Regions from separate parts of the Homo sapiens genome. Here regions 2 and 3 are each linked to region 1. The links are contacts of gene promoters, found by promoter capture Hi-C in human tissues and cell types (Jung and others, 2019). All regions are on one chromosome and are shown on one strand. Each heading gives the region's core, a stretch centred on a gene start or on the middle of the fragment in contact. The rest is flanking DNA. Distances are from core to core; before and after follow the strand shown.

Region 1 (3,036 bases), core at 27-2,526:
GGTCTCCCTTCTCTCTGACCACTCTGTCTCTTCTTCCTCCTCCTCCCCTATAAGCAAAGGGATGGTCCAGGATTCAGTGTAAGCCTATCCCTCATAGCTTAACCACAGGGAGTGCATTCCTTCATCCTCTCTGTGCCTTTACACGCTCTGTTCACTCTACCTGGAGCACTATGTCCTCTTCCCACCACTCACCTCTGCGTGTTCACATTCTCTGTATCCTAGTTCAAATACCTCTTCACAAATCTTCCATATCTGATGTCTTTAAGCCAGAAATAAACTCACTCTTTCCTCTAAATTCTTATCTTTATCCCTTCTCAAAGATAGAATGTTCTGTTTTATATATTGAAATATGAATGTGTGTCACTGTTGGCTGTTAGCTACTTGAGGGTGGAAATGTGGTTTATCTTTCCCACTTAGCCCTCTAGCCAATCCCCCTAGTCAGGTAAGCTTTGTAGTCCTTACAAAGCCAGTATTTAAGTGAATTTGCATGGTGCTTCCCACTTTATTAGGGTGTATTCACAGCCATGATCATATTTGCTTCTCAAAGCAAATATGGAAGGCAAGAACAAGTATTAATCAATTTTATATATGAGAAAACTGAGGAACCAAGAGAATAAAAGATTTAACTGAAGATCTCTAAACTGGTTTTGTGGAAAAGCTGGGAGTAGAAATTTAAATCTTTAGAGTTACAGTACCGGTTATTTTCCAAGAAACACTTGCTGGTATGTGTTGTATCATTAAACTGTGGAGAATAGTTGACACCAAGTCGTTTTCTTTCAAATACATTAAATATTTTACTCTGATCCTTCCCTGTGTCTGCCAATTACTGGGATTATATGATAATTTGCTCCTCGCTTAAGAACATTTAACAGGAAACCCAGATCGAGTGGCTCTGTTCTGGCTTGGGTGGGTTTGGGTATTTTTGTTGCTGCTTCTAGTGATGGTTCTTGCTTTCTTTCTCCCTCTGGATCTGTCTTTTGGTACAAACACACCCCCAACCAAGGGAAAGGGTGAGGTGGATTTCTTTCCCTTTAGCACCTAATCTTATGATGAAAAACGCAGGTTCCTTTCTCTTAAAATTCCAAGATCTTTCCCTTCCAATGACTCCGAAGCCTGGGTGGATACCTCAACTCAGGGCGCAGAACACTTGGGGTCTGAGTGTGCAAGGACCATGCGGACCTGTTCAATCCCGGCCTTTGGGCTCCAGCCCAGCCTTCCCGGGGGGAGGAGCCGCATATGCGGCCAGGTCATAAACCCGTCAGGCCGCCGGGCTCCGGATTTGCAGCCTGAGGCAGAGCTCGGGGGCTGTCGGTGGGGACCTTGCAGGAGGGCACCCCAAGCCCGCCCGGCCCGCCCAACCCAGCCCCTGCGCGCAGCCCGGGCCGAGTAGGACCCCGCGCGCCCCTCGCTATGGCGGCGCCCTCGCGGCTCCTGATCCGCGGGGGTCGCGTGGTCAACGATGACTTCTCGGAGGTGGCCGACGTGCTGGTGGAGGACGGCGTGGTGCGGGCACTCGGGCACGACCTGCTGCCTCCCGGGGGCGCTCCTGCGGGGCTGCGGGTCCTCGACGCCGCCGGCAAGCTCGTCCTGCCCGGAGGCATCGACACACACACGCACATGCAGTTCCCCTTCATGGGCTCGCGGTCCATCGACGACTTCCACCAGGGCACCAAGGTACCCGCCCCGCCGCGCCCCCGCCCCGCGGTACCCACGGAGGCTCGGGCAGCCTCCCCAGTCGTCCCGGGGTCCTCAGCAGGGCCGCCTCGCGCGGCGCGGCGCCGAGGAGCTGGGTGGGCGGGAAGGAGCGCAGCCCCGGCGGGTGTCAGAGGGGACTCAGATTCTCTTCGCTGGGGTCCCTTTCAGGCGCCCCTTCTCGGCGGCAGCCGAGCAGCCTTGGCTCAACCAGATGCCCTCGACTCCTCCTTTAGTGGTTAATTTGACGAGTTTAAGGCCATCCCCTTACCCTAATTTCTCTATACCGCTTACTCCCCAAATCTCCCCGCAACCCCATTTTGATTGGTGTTCTGTGGAAGTCGCAAATCTTCCATACATTCTTTAGAATCTTTTTTTAAAGTAGGCACTTCCAGCCATTTCTCCCAACCATTTCGACCCATCCTTTATCCCCAACCAAAACCAAATGAAAAATCCATTCACCTGGTAGTTACAGCCTTGACTCAAAGTGAGCAGTGTAGCAGGTAATGTGTCTGAGTAGGCTAGATGCCCACCGTGTTCACGTTCCCGTCCCCTACCCTCTGCCCCCACTCCCACCCCCAGTAGAAAAAATATAGCCCCGACCAGGGTTTAGAAGAGAAAGTATTCCAGAAATGATCTCGCAACACTCACACACACCAACGCAGCCTCGCAGCAGGCTCTTTTCTCCATCCCACTTGCGCTGGGGACACAACATTCTTGCTGCTGGAGTACCCATAGTTTTACTGATGTTGCAGGAGGGTAATCAGATCACCACTCCCCAGGTGAAGGTAGGCTTGGGTTTCTCTAGATACAAAGGCCTAGAAGTTTGGGTCAATGAAAGGAAACTTAAACCAAACTTGTCCAACCTGTAGGCCGCATGCAGCCCAGGACAGCTTTGAATGCGGCCCAACACAAATTCATAAACTTTCTTAAAACATTATGAGATTTTTTTTCTTAGTTCATTGGCTGTCGTTAGTGTTAGTATATTTCATGTGTGGCCCAAGACAAGAGAAGCCAAAGATTGGACACCCCTGCAACATTTCCCCAAAGCTCCTCAACACAAGATCAAGAGACTAACAGAGCAGCTTTACAGGAACATAGAGTAAAAATTCTACTCTCAGCACTTGGGCTAAAGTAAAGCCCACATCCTCCCTAAGTCCTGTGTTTTGAGCTGCCTTGAGAGAAATGGCTCCTTCCAAAGTGAAGATGTATTGATATACTAAAGGCCTTGGCTTTTCACTTGGACCATACCTTGATGTGTGAAACAAGTTGGGCTATTAAGTCCAGTGTATAGTAGGCTTCCTTCCTCCCTCCCTCCTTCTCTCCATCACTCCCTCCCTTCTT
Region 2 (3,462 bases), core at 349-2,848, 180 kb after region 1:
CATTAACCTTGACTATGCCTTTGGCTTTTTAAGATTAAATTGCTGGGCAGGTGGGGGAGGGCTAGTCATGGAACAAAACTGCAAGCCGGACCAGGTGTGAGGAGGGGAGGTGATAAAAAGATTATAGGGTGGAGGAGCGGAGGCTGAGGAAGAATTGGGACCTAGCTCGGCCTGGCGAGGAGGGGAGAGGTCAGATGGGTCTGTAGAAAAGGAAGATTAGAAAGACTCAGTGACGCTTGGGGTTGGGACTGAGGGGACAGGCAGGAGGGAAAGAAGAAAGATTTGGGATGAGTTGCACTGGGCACAGAGACTAGGAAGGGACTGATGTGTAAAAGAATGCCTGGATGTCAGGCACCTCAGACCGTTTTCCTATTTTACAACAAGAATTATTTAGATCTTGCAGGATGGAAAAATTCAAAGTGCCATTTTCTGGCTATTTGGAACTACTGTTGAGTTTGTATTGGGGTCAAGCGGCATTGCAGAAGAAAATAAGGCATTTAGGTTTTAGGTCAGGTGTGAGTTGAAGAGGTTTTAAGTTTTTGAGAACACAGGCTAGGGGAGAAGAAGGAGGAATGGAAGGTGGAAGCTTACCCATAGTGAAGGAGGCAAGCCCAGAGAAAAGAGTAGAGACACGGAGAAGGGGTGGGGGGTTCTTGCCCTCCAGAAAAGCAGAGAAGGGGTTGGGGCATGGAAATAAGGGATTGGGGCACAGAGATAAAAGGTCAGGGTGTGGAAATAAGGGATTGGAGCACAGAGATAAGAGGTTGGGGTGCAGAAATAAGCGATTGGGGGGGTTCTTGCCCTCTAGGAAAGCGGGACTTGCCGCTAAGGGTGAAGGAGAAGGGGGTTGAGGGGTACTTGCCCCTTCCCCAGAAAAGCAGAGAAGGGGTAGAGACAAGGAGAGAAGGGGTTGGGGTACTTGCCCCTTCCCCAGAGAAGCAGAGAAGGGGTAGAGACAAGGAGAGAAGGGATTGGGGTACTTGCCCCTTCCCAAGAAAAGCGGGACTTGCCGCTAAGGGTGAAGGACCAAGGCAAGTGTCCCTGCGTGGTCTGACACCCTTGAAACATGGGTGTATAATCAGAGAGGCATCCCTGCAATGATTAAACACAAAGGGAAGGCTGCCTTCCCAGTCCATGACAGGCGCTGGAGTTTTGGGTCCACGGATAAAACATGTCTCTTTTGTCTCTACCAGAAAATTAAAGGAATTGAAATTAAGAGAAGGGAGAGATTGAAGTGTAGCGCCAAGATTGAAAGAAGAAAGAGGTTGAGGGATAGTGAGGGAAGTTGGAGAAGAGAGTAAAAAGAGGCCGCTTACTGGATTTGAAATTGGTGAGATGTTTCTTGGGCTGGTCGGTCTTAGGACCTGAGGTCGTAGGTGGATCTTTCTCACGGAGCAAAGAGCAGGAGGACGGGGTATTGATCTCCCAAGGGAGGTCCCCCGATCCGAGTCACGGCACCAAATTTCATGTGCATCCGTGTGAAGAGACCACCAAACAGGCTTTGTGTGAACAACATGGCTGTTTATTTCACCTGGGTGCAGGCGGGCTGAGTCCGAAAAGAGAGTCAGCAAAGGGTGGTGGATTATCATTAGTTCTTATAGGTTTTGGGATAGGCAGTGAAGTTAAGAGCAATGTTTTGTGGGCAGGGTGGATCTCACAAAGTACATTGTCAAGGGTGGGGAGAATTACAAAGAACCTTCTTAAGGGTGGGGGAGATTACAAAGTACATTGATCAGTTAGGGTGGGGCAGGAACAAATCACAATGGTGGAATGTCATCTGTTAAGGCTATTTTTACTTCTTTTGTGGATCTTCAGTTACTTCAGGCCATCTGGATGTATACGTGCAAGTCACAGGGGATGCGATGGCTTGGCTTGGGCTCAGAGGCCTGACAGTTTCATATTGAATTTCTGAAGCCTTTTTGAAGGAGGCAGTCAGATCTGCCTCTAGCTCAGTGAGCAGAGGGATGACTTTGAATAGAATGGGAGGGAGGTTTGACCTAAGCAGTCCCCAGCTTGACTTTTCCCTTTAGTTTAGTAATTTGGGGACCCCAAGATTTTCCTTTCACAGAATCTAAGAGTGGCAGTGGCCAACCCAGAGATTTGCTTTATCTGTGATGGTCGTCTGAAACCTCTGCCCATTCTTTGGAACACAGGCCATAGAGGGAGTTGAGGCCCTTTGTTTTGGGTTAAATGGAGGTTGCCAGGTAGAGGGTGCTAAGTGAAAATGTTTTATACACAACATGCTGTTTACAAACAATAGTAGTTCTCCTGTCCAGCCTGCCTCCGCTGGATTTCTCTGTATGTAAGTTCCCACCCCCTCCATGCTAATAAACCTTCTGTCTCCAGGTCTCTTCTTTGGCCTCTCAGACATGGTGCCATCCCTACTGGAGTCAATAGGGGACTGGTAGGACAGTCCCACAAGTAGAAGAAACACTGATTCATTGGATGCTTCATGAGCACCTTCTCCAGGTCAGGCACTTTCTAGGAGCTGGAGAAATATCCAGGAACAAAACAGACAAGTATTCCTGTATTCAGGGAGCTATGTTATAGCAGGGGGGATATAGGCAAATATTAAGAATAAATAGAAATAAGTTAACACAAATTAAGCTTCTTCCAGATTATCCCACCACAATGGCATCATCCCAACTTTAAAATATATATAGTTTTTCCTAGTGGCAATTTAATTCAGACCATAATGGCCAAAATGATTGCTTTTGTAAACTAAAAATAAAATTCTAAGCCTTCCAGCCCTTTGATTGGACCCCTCCTCTCAGCTAAGGGAATTCTAAAGTTAACCTGAAAACCTAGTTCAGGCCAGGATGGGAAGCCGGGGTCAGGGGTGTTGGCCATGCCTCATTATGCCCTCCACCCTTTGGAATTCAGGGACAACTGACCAGCATTAACATCAAAACAGACATCTTAAGACTTCTTGTAACAATAAGGCTTCAAGTCCCAGCCTGACTTTAGTATAGCATCACTTGACAAATAGCAGGCCCTGAATGAAATCGAAGCATTTTACCCTAAAATATATTTATTTGACATATTTTGAAATGGCCCTGCAAAGCTTTCTCTCATGGGGAAAAAATCTACATTCTGTAGAGACTCCCTTTCCCTTTCCAGTTCTTTTCTTCTGATCCAGGAGAGAATTAACTAAGAGTCTAGCACCTTTTTAAGTCTGATAAGAAACATTTACAATCTATTGTCTCTGAAGCCTGCTACCTGGAGGCTTCATCTGCTTAATAAGAACCTTGGTCTCCACAACTCCTTATCTTAGTCCAGACACTTCTTTCTATGGATTCCAGGTCTGCAGATAAACTCTTTCAACAAATTGCCAATCAAAAAATCTTTGAATCCATCTATGACCTGGAAGTCCCGCTTCTCGCTCCCACTTCAAGTTGTCCTGTCTTTCCAGACTGAACCAATGTATATCTTACATGTATTGATGGATGTCTTATGTCTCCC
Region 3 (3,148 bases), core at 285-2,784, 210 kb before region 1:
TATTAAGAGGGAAGATAGAATATTCAGTAGACCTGTCACACATCTCTTCCTATAAGGATCCTTGTGATTACACTGGGCCCACCAGGATAATACAGGCTAAGTTTTCATCTCAAGTCAGCTGACACAAGTTTAATTCCACATGCAACCTTAATTTCCCTTTGCCATGTAACCTAACATATCCATAGGTTCTGAGGATTAGGATGTGGACATCTTTGGTAGCCATTATTTTCCCTACCACAACACCTCAATCCTCAATTGTGTTTAGGGTGTCAATAAGTCCAGAAACCCTTGTTTTTACCTACTTCATAAACTAAACCTCCTGTTTTCTCTGGGGTAGTATAGGGAGACAATGGCAGTTAATGACTGGGCAGACTGGGGGATAGAATCTGAATGTCTAACTGCAATACTACGTAAAGAGAATTTCAATGAATCTTCCTGTTTCTATCTCCACCTTCATCTTCCCATTTCCATAAATACCTGGCATGTATACCAGGTATATCAATTTCTGAGACTTTAGAAGATTCTATGGATTACATTAGTACACTGGATTGCTTCTTGTCTCTCCCCACTGCAAGTTTAGGATTCAGCTTTCTCAAGTGTCTCAAAGTCAATTGCTACTCGTTAATTTTCCTTCTAGCTTCCAAAATTTCATTTCTATTGTTTTCTCCTCTGTTCTCTTTGCCCTTGTGGGTTTATACAATTCGGGTAGATTAAATATAGAAATATCCGTAATTTCCTCCTCATATTCATGCCCCTTGCAATGTAAATTTGCAGCTCCACTAAAAAAGTGGCAAAGCCAATTTTTCCATCCCTTAAATCTGGACAGGCCTTGTGACTTGCTTCAGCCAGCAGAATAAGGTAGAAGTGACAATGTATCTGATCAAAGGGTAGATCTCAAGAGACCCTAAACACTCCATTCACTTTCTCAAGATCCCCTTCTTCTCCATATGGATAAGCTTGATCTGGCCTGGTGTTGGATGGTAGCCTGAGTCAACTCAGAGGTCCCAAATGAGGCTGGGGAGATATGGGAGTTCAGTCAAGATTAGCAAATCTGCACTTGACCTGCAGCTGACTGCAAATACATGAAGGAGCCCTACTGAAACCAAAAAAATCATTTATCTGAGCCCAGCTCACATTGCAAATCCACAGAATCTGAACTAAATAAATGGTTGTTGTTTAAAGCCACTTTATTTCAGGCATATATTGTTATGCAGGAAAAGCTAACTCATACAGTCTTTAAAAATCCCTTTACAGTTATTAATTAGAAATTCAGGGGCAGACTGTAGATGTGTGTGTTCAATCCTTTACCTTTATCGGCAACTTTTGATTGACTGTTTTCTCAATAAGGTCTGTTCAATAGAGAATCATAGAAGTATGCCTATATCACATTAATTTTATTATTTATTTTTTATTTATTCACTTGATTTTGTTTCAATATTTATTTTAGATTCAGGGGGTACATGTGCTCGTTTGTTACCTAGGTATATTGTGTGATGTTGAGGTTTGGGGTACAAATGATCACATCACCCAGTTACTGAGCATAGTACCCAATTGTTAGTTCTTCAACCCTTGTCACCCTCCCTACCTACCACTCTAGTAGTCCCCAGGATCTACTGTTGCCATCCTTATATCCAGGAATACCCAGTGTTTAAATCCCACTTATAACTGAGAATATGTGGTATTTGGTTTTCTGTTCCCATGTTAATTCGCTTAGGATAATGGTCTCCAGCTGCATCCATGCTGCAAAGGACAAGATTTCATTCTTTTTTATGACTGCATAGTATTCCATAGTATATATGTACCACATTTTCTTTATCCAGTCCACTGTTGATGGGCACCTAGGTTGATTCTATGTCTTTACTGTTGTGAATCATTAACTTGATTTTTAAAAAGCAGTAACTTTATCCAAAGCATAGCTGACATAGCTTCTGGTTTTTCATGATTCTTGTTGATCAAAAAAGTAGTTGCTATGATGATATTCAACATTCCGTTTGAAGCACATTTTTATTCTTAATTCCTACAAATACAATACATTCTGTGTCTTTTCTTATTTCACCCTCCAGCCATACCCTTTCATGGTACTCTTAAATAGGAAGTTCTTTAGCATCTTTGGTCACAGGACAGTATAGAATATAATTTTGAAATGTGGCCAGTTAATATTTCACTAAAATAAGTTCCACTGATGCACTTTTTTTTGCTCATTTTGCATCAACAGCCCATTTGAAGTGGTATAGTCCGTCTAAAATGGAGTAAAGCTTTCTAAGATAATAATAGTACATAGTTCATAGTTCAATGTTTCCAAGTATTGAGATCCAAAATCTTAAGTTATATTTCATAATATGTACAATGCCTTGTTTTGTTGGCATTCATGATTTTATATTTATAGCTCTTCAAACATTAGTATTTTTCATCATCTGAATAGATATTTACTTTCTAAGTTTGGTCATAAAAGAAATTATTTGAAAGAGTCATTCAGGAGGACAAAGTCCTTCCAATATTTGAGGGAAGATTGCTGTGTCTTTGGCTCTGACTGTCAAACCAAAGCAGGGTATAGCTCTAACCAATACAAAAATTGTTGTATCCTAACCCAATTGTTAGGCTCAGGAATACAATTATCATTACACAGAAGCTTTTAATAATTTTTCTCAGCACTTACTTTTTATTAACTGGGTTACAATTAAATGTACTTATTTTAGCCCTAAATTCAATGATAATAGATGATTTGGAGTCTTCGTAGGCAACATCAAGGATTTCTGAACAATATGTAGCAGAAAATCAAAGGAAAAGAATGGAATCATACTGTTGCCTTGGTTATTAATGGATTTGGAGCTTCTTCTGCATCCACTAATGATTATTACCATGTCCTACATAAAACAAAATGCCAATATTTGGGATATAGAGACTTGACATGAACATATTAAAAACATACAAAATGGAAAACATGTGGAAGACACAAGTGCCAGTAAGGACACAAGCTAAAAAATGGAAAAGATAGGATATGATATGAGCCCAAAGAGGAAATTAACAAATAGTAATAAAAGCTAGTATTTTTGAGAGCTTACCATTTTACACCCTTTCACAATCCTATCATATAGGTACTATTATTATTCTTGTTTTCCAGGTATTATTATTATTCTCATTTTGTAGT

What was found. Contacts are between HindIII fragments. The study calls those that stand out against the background at their distance.
Region 2: a fragment that was not itself captured here is called in contact with the fragment with the promoter of DPYS in region 1 in 1 of the 25 tissues and cell types used here (hippocampus).
Region 3: a contact is called between a fragment that was not itself captured here and the fragment with the promoter of DPYS in region 1, in 1 of the 25 tissues and cell types used here (H1 embryonic stem cells).

Annotation. Positions count from the first base shown.
Region 1 is chr8:104,465,295-104,468,330 of GRCh38, reverse strand. It overlaps DPYS (dihydropyrimidinase), which reads left to right and starts at 1,276. Exons shown (of 10, transcript NM_001385.3): 1 at 1,276-1,674. The coding sequence starts at 1,411. LOC105375691 (a long non-coding RNA gene) reads right to left here and starts at 2,561. Exons shown (of 3, transcript XR_928507.3): 1 at 2,344-2,561. The HindIII fragment of the contact is 4,558 bases long and covers 1-3,036 here.
Region 2 is chr8:104,284,342-104,287,803 of GRCh38, reverse strand. No RefSeq gene overlaps it. Among named protein-coding and RNA genes, the nearest start is that of DCSTAMP, 54 kb to the left of the region's middle. RefSeq lists an enhancer at 3,382-3,462. The HindIII fragment of the contact is 4,105 bases long and covers 1-3,462 here.
Region 3 is chr8:104,674,196-104,677,343 of GRCh38, reverse strand. No RefSeq gene overlaps it. Among named protein-coding and RNA genes, the nearest start is that of LRP12, 87 kb to the right of the region's middle. The HindIII fragment of the contact is 4,163 bases long and covers 1-3,148 here.